Linked DNA regions of Homo sapiens: region 1 is linked to region 2. Evidence: promoter capture Hi-C in 16 types of primary human blood cells and fetal thymus (Javierre and others, 2016). All regions are on one chromosome and are shown on one strand. The core of a region is centred on a gene start or on the middle of the fragment in contact, and the rest is flanking DNA. Distances in the headings are between cores, read along the strand shown. Region 1 overlaps TTC21B (tetratricopeptide repeat domain 21B). Region 2 holds the start of SCN3A (sodium voltage-gated channel alpha subunit 3).

Region 1 (2,729 bases), core at 161-2,660, 740 kb after region 2:
AAATATAAGCTTCATGACCACAGGGATATTGGCCTGTTTGCCTAAAAAGAGTGTCTGTCTTAAACCAGGAATCAAATATTTATGTAAATCAATAAATTCAATGTTTAAAAGCAGTATGATTTTAAGTATTTCCTCGGTTCCACACTGTTTGAAAAAAATCAAATTTAAAAACCCTTATGAAAAAAATTCACAGATGTCGCTTTTTCTCAAAATTATAACCAAATCCAAAGAGACTTGTGTCATCTTTTATTACTTAACCTTTGTGCTGTCTCAACTGTCTGGTCCCAATCCTGCAAGGCTAGTTGTAATTTCATTTTCTTAACAAAAGCAGGAAGGAAGCTCGGAAAATTCACGATTATCTGGTTCACAGTCTCCAGGGCACCTGAATAATTCTGGCGCATCTCAAGGCATTGTGCCTAATGGAAGGGAAAAAAAGTGATATCCAAACTGTGATCTTTCATATCAAAGTTCTCATAACGCAGAGCAGGCAGAGTATGAGCGTTTAATACTTACTTTTCTGTGAGGAGCAGTTATCACTTTTTAAGTTTTTGTCAAAACAAAATTTTAAAACATCACAGAATAATACAAATACATTATATAAGCTATTGTGTTTTAAAATTTACTTTTAAATGGCTGAAAAACATGATTAAAGGATAAAATTTTTTAAAATGTTCTCGGAAATACCATAAAATAATGTTTCCATTTAAAACAAAATTATCTTTTTAGATTAAAATGTTTCCAGGAAATTTTCAAGTAGCATCTAAAATTTTAAGAAATTTTAGAAATTTTGCATCTTTTTTAAGAAATTATTTTCAGGTTAAAGAATATATGATTTTAAAGAACAAGCAAAATACAGTTCAAACAAATCCCTCTACTTCAACATTTTTCACTTCTATGAATTATCTGAAGGAAATAATTGGACAAGACCACAAGGAAGTATATAGATGATATTTATGGCAGAATTGTTTATGTATAAAATAATCCCAAATGTACCTAGAGGAGAAAATTATAGTATATCTAATTTAATAAAATGTTAAGTAATCATTAAAAATGATGATATAAATTTGTAGACGTAGATTTACTGACATGAAGAGATATTATATATAATAGTTTAACTGGTTATTTCCAATGGTGATGCTCATTTTCTCATTCAGATGTTATTGTATTTTCTGAAAAAAAGTTTTACTATGTTCATGTATCTCATAGTCAGAAAAAATAAAGCTATAAATATAGTTAGTACATTAAAAAGAGATGATGAGGCAAATTTTTATCAACTAGCTTTTCTTTAAGAGAAGGAAAATGATCAAGAAAAGTATATGGCCAATTTCTTCAGCAGTGCTATTAGGTAAAACTTGAGGGTAGTGGGCCTGAACACAAGATGTTCAACAGGCTTACTGTCCACACAAAGTGACAGGAAAAGTGATGTGGAGACATTAACAAAAGTCAAGACATGAATCCTCTCCCCTTCTTTTTTATCCCTCCAAATTACTGCTTATCTAGCAGACTTGTTCCCAACATATAATTTCTTTTTGCTGAGTCAAAAAAAAATTAAGGCATTTAGATAGCATCAATGGGGATTGAAGAAAGGGTCCTACTTAAATATTTCCATCCATCAGTAAGTTCTAATGACTCCTTCAATTGCTCATCCCTCAAAATGTATGTCCGATCATGTTATTTCTCTGTTCAAAACTTTGTATTGGCTGCCTGTCTCTCTAATAGAAGGTAGAAGCCAAAGGCCTTACAGAACAGGCCAGGCCCACCACTCCTCCTCACCCCCATCCCACCTTTCTTCCTCAGGCCTTCACTTCTGTTCTCTTTACTCAACCCACTTTGGCCTCCTTGCTAGCCCTGAATACACCTTAGGGTACCTGAACTCATCATCTCCTCTATTTGAAATACTTTCCCCAGATGCCTGCAGGGCTTTAACCCTCACCTCCATAAATGTGTTTGCTCAAATGTCACTTTCTCCGACCACTTCATGTAAAACTGGAAGTTCATGCCCTAGCTTTTCCAGCTGTATTTTCCATTATACTTATCACCTTCTAATATACCATATAACTTACTTATTTTGTTTATTGTCTGCCTCCATCAGTAGGATATAAGCTCCATAAAAACAAGAGGTTTTCTCTTGCTCAGGGTTTCTAATATCTAGAGGGATGCCTCACATACATAAGACACATAATAAATGCTGAGGAAAGAATGTGTGAACCAAAACAACAACAACAATTAACAGTTACAGCTGATCCAGGATTCAGGAACTCTGGCAGGGAATACATTTCTCTAGTGTATTGCTCATTGTCCTACACAAATGCCAGTCTACCTTACAGCTGTGAGCTGACAACAGTATCATGAAAATTATCAACTTTTTTGAGCTACTTGGTTTTGTCAGGTTTCAAATATATTATGAATATATTTTGAAACATGATTTATTTACCCTAACTCCAACTCACCTTACCCAGCAGAGCAAAAGTATCATTCCCATCTTGGAGTCCCTCTTCAAAATACTTCAGTGCTTTTTTAGTGTAAGGCTCTTTTCCTCTTGTAATATCAAGCCATGCTTTCAAAACGTGTCCCTGTAAAATGAATAATTCTATTTTTACTTTTTTAGAAATGAGAGAAATAAATGTTAATGAAAGAGCCTAATGTCATTTTTCTGGCAATTAATAACAAAAAGGACTCTATCAAATATGTTATGAACAATAAAATTCTGTTAGTGAAATCACTTTTGA
Region 2 (2,917 bases), core at 120-2,619:
TTGAAGCCCTTTTAGCCAGTACTGACTGGAAGCCCTGTTGAAATCAGAAGTCTTCATTTCATATAGGGCACACTCTATTTGGAGTGAATGTGATGAAATGTTTCCATGCAAATTCCTACAAGCACTTATGCCTTTATCTTTGTCCTCATAAGCCACATTATACTACCTGTTGTGTATTTTAAAACCCTGTATGATTTTTAAAACTTATCTTTCAATTAATATGTATAGATTTTCTGTCAATAATTTCTTATTCTAATTATGTGGTGGCTAACTGAATGAAACATTTATGGTTATGATATAGAATATTCTAAATACAACTACAGACAATATGGATCATAGATAAAGTAAATTATTGTTTTATGGCTCCAGTGGTTCTTCCTGGTAATTAATAAAAATAAACAGTTATTAAATATATACAGAAAAACAGCAATCTATCAAGCTTATAGAACAATTAAGAATATATAATAATCTTTAAATCAATAAATTAAAAGGTAAACATTTAATATAAAATGAATATATTAAAGGATAAAGAAGTAGCATATTATGGAACATATAGAGATTATTTTATTTTTTGAAGGTTCAACCTCTTTTAAATGGTTAGTATTGGTGTTCTTTTCTCTATGAAAACAGATTTTAGAGAAAAATGATAGTGTATTTCACAAAGCCAAACACCTCTATATTGTTATCACTCCCTATATGCATGGCCTCTCTAAAGCTGTTAAATAAAAAACTAAAGCACAAGAATGATAGTTCCAATTTCACTATACATTTATGTTTAAAAAATACTGGACACACTGGGCATTTAAATAGATGACATACAGCCAGGAAACTCATTAGACTAGCTTTAAGTATAATAAAAAATATTTTTTCTGAATACAATTAATCATAAGCATCTACAAAAACACAAGACCATTGATGCCTAGTATGTACCATAAATCACCATTTCCAGACAGGCTCTATTTTCTTTGAAAGATAAAGAAATAGTAAGCAGTTTACACATCAAACGATGCCTTTGGTTCCTGTAATTTACATTTAAACAACACTGGGTTAAAAATAGCAGCATGAAGATGATTTTAAAGTAAGGAAAATGACCTGGTAGCTAGGTTCTATGGTGCAGATAATGAAATGTTTTGTCAGCTTACCTGATAAAACAGAGCCTTATGAATTACAGCATAACAAAGCCCAGCATCCAAGATGGTTAGGGTATAACGTGTCTTCCTCTGCAGCTGTTCAGCTTTTTTTTTTTTTTTTTTTTTTGACCACAGAGGTTTACAAATTAGTTACAATTTTTTTTCTTTCTTTCTCTGTGGATAAGAAAACAAAGAGACCTTTCCAGAATCCTCTCTGCTTATGCCTCCGCTTCCTGTTCTGAGATTCACTCTATGGTACCCAACATATATCAGAAAACAGCTTTGAGGAAAAAAAAAAAGAAAGAAAAAAAGGCCGATCGCACTCAAAGTGGTACCGCCATCTACTGGCGGACACACACAAAATTGAGCCAAAGAAAAAACATTCCCATTATCCTCTGTCACAGGGAGGAAAGTAAACCTGCATGAAGCATGGGTAGTCATGAAAGTGCCCCAAGATGACAGTAGAGAGGTGATGTGAGCTAAAATTTCCCAACACACTAAAAAAATGTAACTTATCTACTACATATAAATATGTATGAGACCTTTTACATATTCAGTTATTTGCATCTCACTAATTTTTTTAAAAAATTTTATCACTTTGTTGTTTTGCATGATTGTTTCACACATAAACTACTAAAATTAAAAGATATATAAATTACTGTTTGAAAAATAGGTTTTAAGTTTACATTACCCTTTACGTGTAGAGTTTTGCGAAAGCTCCCTTGTGGCCTGCTCTAGTCTTTTGAAAACCTTTTCTCTTCCTGGGATGAATTATTTTCAAGGTGAGGAATTTGACTCCTTAGAGAACAGTGTAAACACATACTCACTGATAGTATTTTTGTGTTGCTTTCTGGTAAAACATTTGCAAGAAATATCTAAATGTAGAAAAAGATTCTATACATCAGTGAACCTAGCTAATATTATTTATTAGGATATTGAAGCACACAATACATAAAGAAAATAAAAATAATCCATCAGTTATTAAGATATTTCTCAATCCAGATGTATGTTATTGTTTCATCTGACCTTTCATATCTACTTTAGAGCAAACAACTATGATTTTATTACAGTTTATCATCAATTAAATAAATACATTCATATTGACAAACCAACTGTATGGATGGACAAAAATGATGTCAAGTATTATATTAGACTTGAAAAGACACAGAGAGAAACACACAGTGCCTGCCATAAAGGAGCTCATACAAAGAAGAAAAACAAATATAGCTGATACCATATTTCCCAGCCATGTGTTCAAGAACTGTTAATTACATACTTCGTTTTCAATTGTGGCCCCCATTTTGTCTAATGGCAGAAAAATAAATCTAGTCAGTTCCAGGTAAACTAAATTACTTGAGGCTTTTCCCAATGATTTTGGGTTTGCATTCAACCAATACATGATTTTCCTCTTCTATCTCTCCTTCTCATGGAGACTGATCTAAGTTCAGGATTGTGTACATATATAGAGAAAGCAGAGTATGATCCCGTTCCCCCTTTCTCCACATGGGCATCCACTGAGGCCAGGAGTCCTGCATGATCCATGACCATCATTATCCCTCATATCTACTAACGTACCCACAGGCCCACTGGGCCCCGGGAATAGCATCCCTCCAGCTTTGCATGGCAGCATCCCCTCTTTGTCACTTCTTCCTCTAAGGAAACTTTTGTTCCTGTCCTTTAGGAGGAGAGAAGAAAAAGCAGCATGTTCCCAGGGTCACTCTTGGCTGTAATTGGCTGACTTAAGCCTTCCTCCCTGCCCCAGGCGCCTCACACAGCCATCTCTGTTC

The links. The method cuts DNA at HindIII sites, captures the fragments that hold promoters and counts their contacts. A CHiCAGO score of 5 or more calls a contact.
Region 1: a contact is called between a fragment that was not itself captured here and the fragment with the promoter of SCN3A in region 2, in 1 of 17 cell types (total B cells). The highest score is 6.5, in total B cells.

Annotation. Positions count from the first base shown.
Region 1 is chr2:165,940,769-165,943,497 of GRCh38, forward strand. It overlaps TTC21B (tetratricopeptide repeat domain 21B), which reads right to left. Exons shown (of 29, transcript NM_024753.5): 5 at 2,451-2,573; 6 at 259-416. The region is part of intron 1 of TTC21B-AS1 (TTC21B antisense RNA 1); the gene reads left to right. Among named protein-coding and RNA genes, the nearest start is that of TTC21B-AS1, 8.3 kb to the left of the region's middle. The HindIII fragment of the contact is 2,806 bases long and covers 8-2,729 here.
Region 2 is chr2:165,202,681-165,205,597 of GRCh38, forward strand. SCN3A (sodium voltage-gated channel alpha subunit 3) reads right to left here and starts at 1,370. Exons shown (of 28, transcript NM_006922.4): 1 at 1,143-1,370. The HindIII fragment of the contact is 4,908 bases long and covers 438-2,917 here.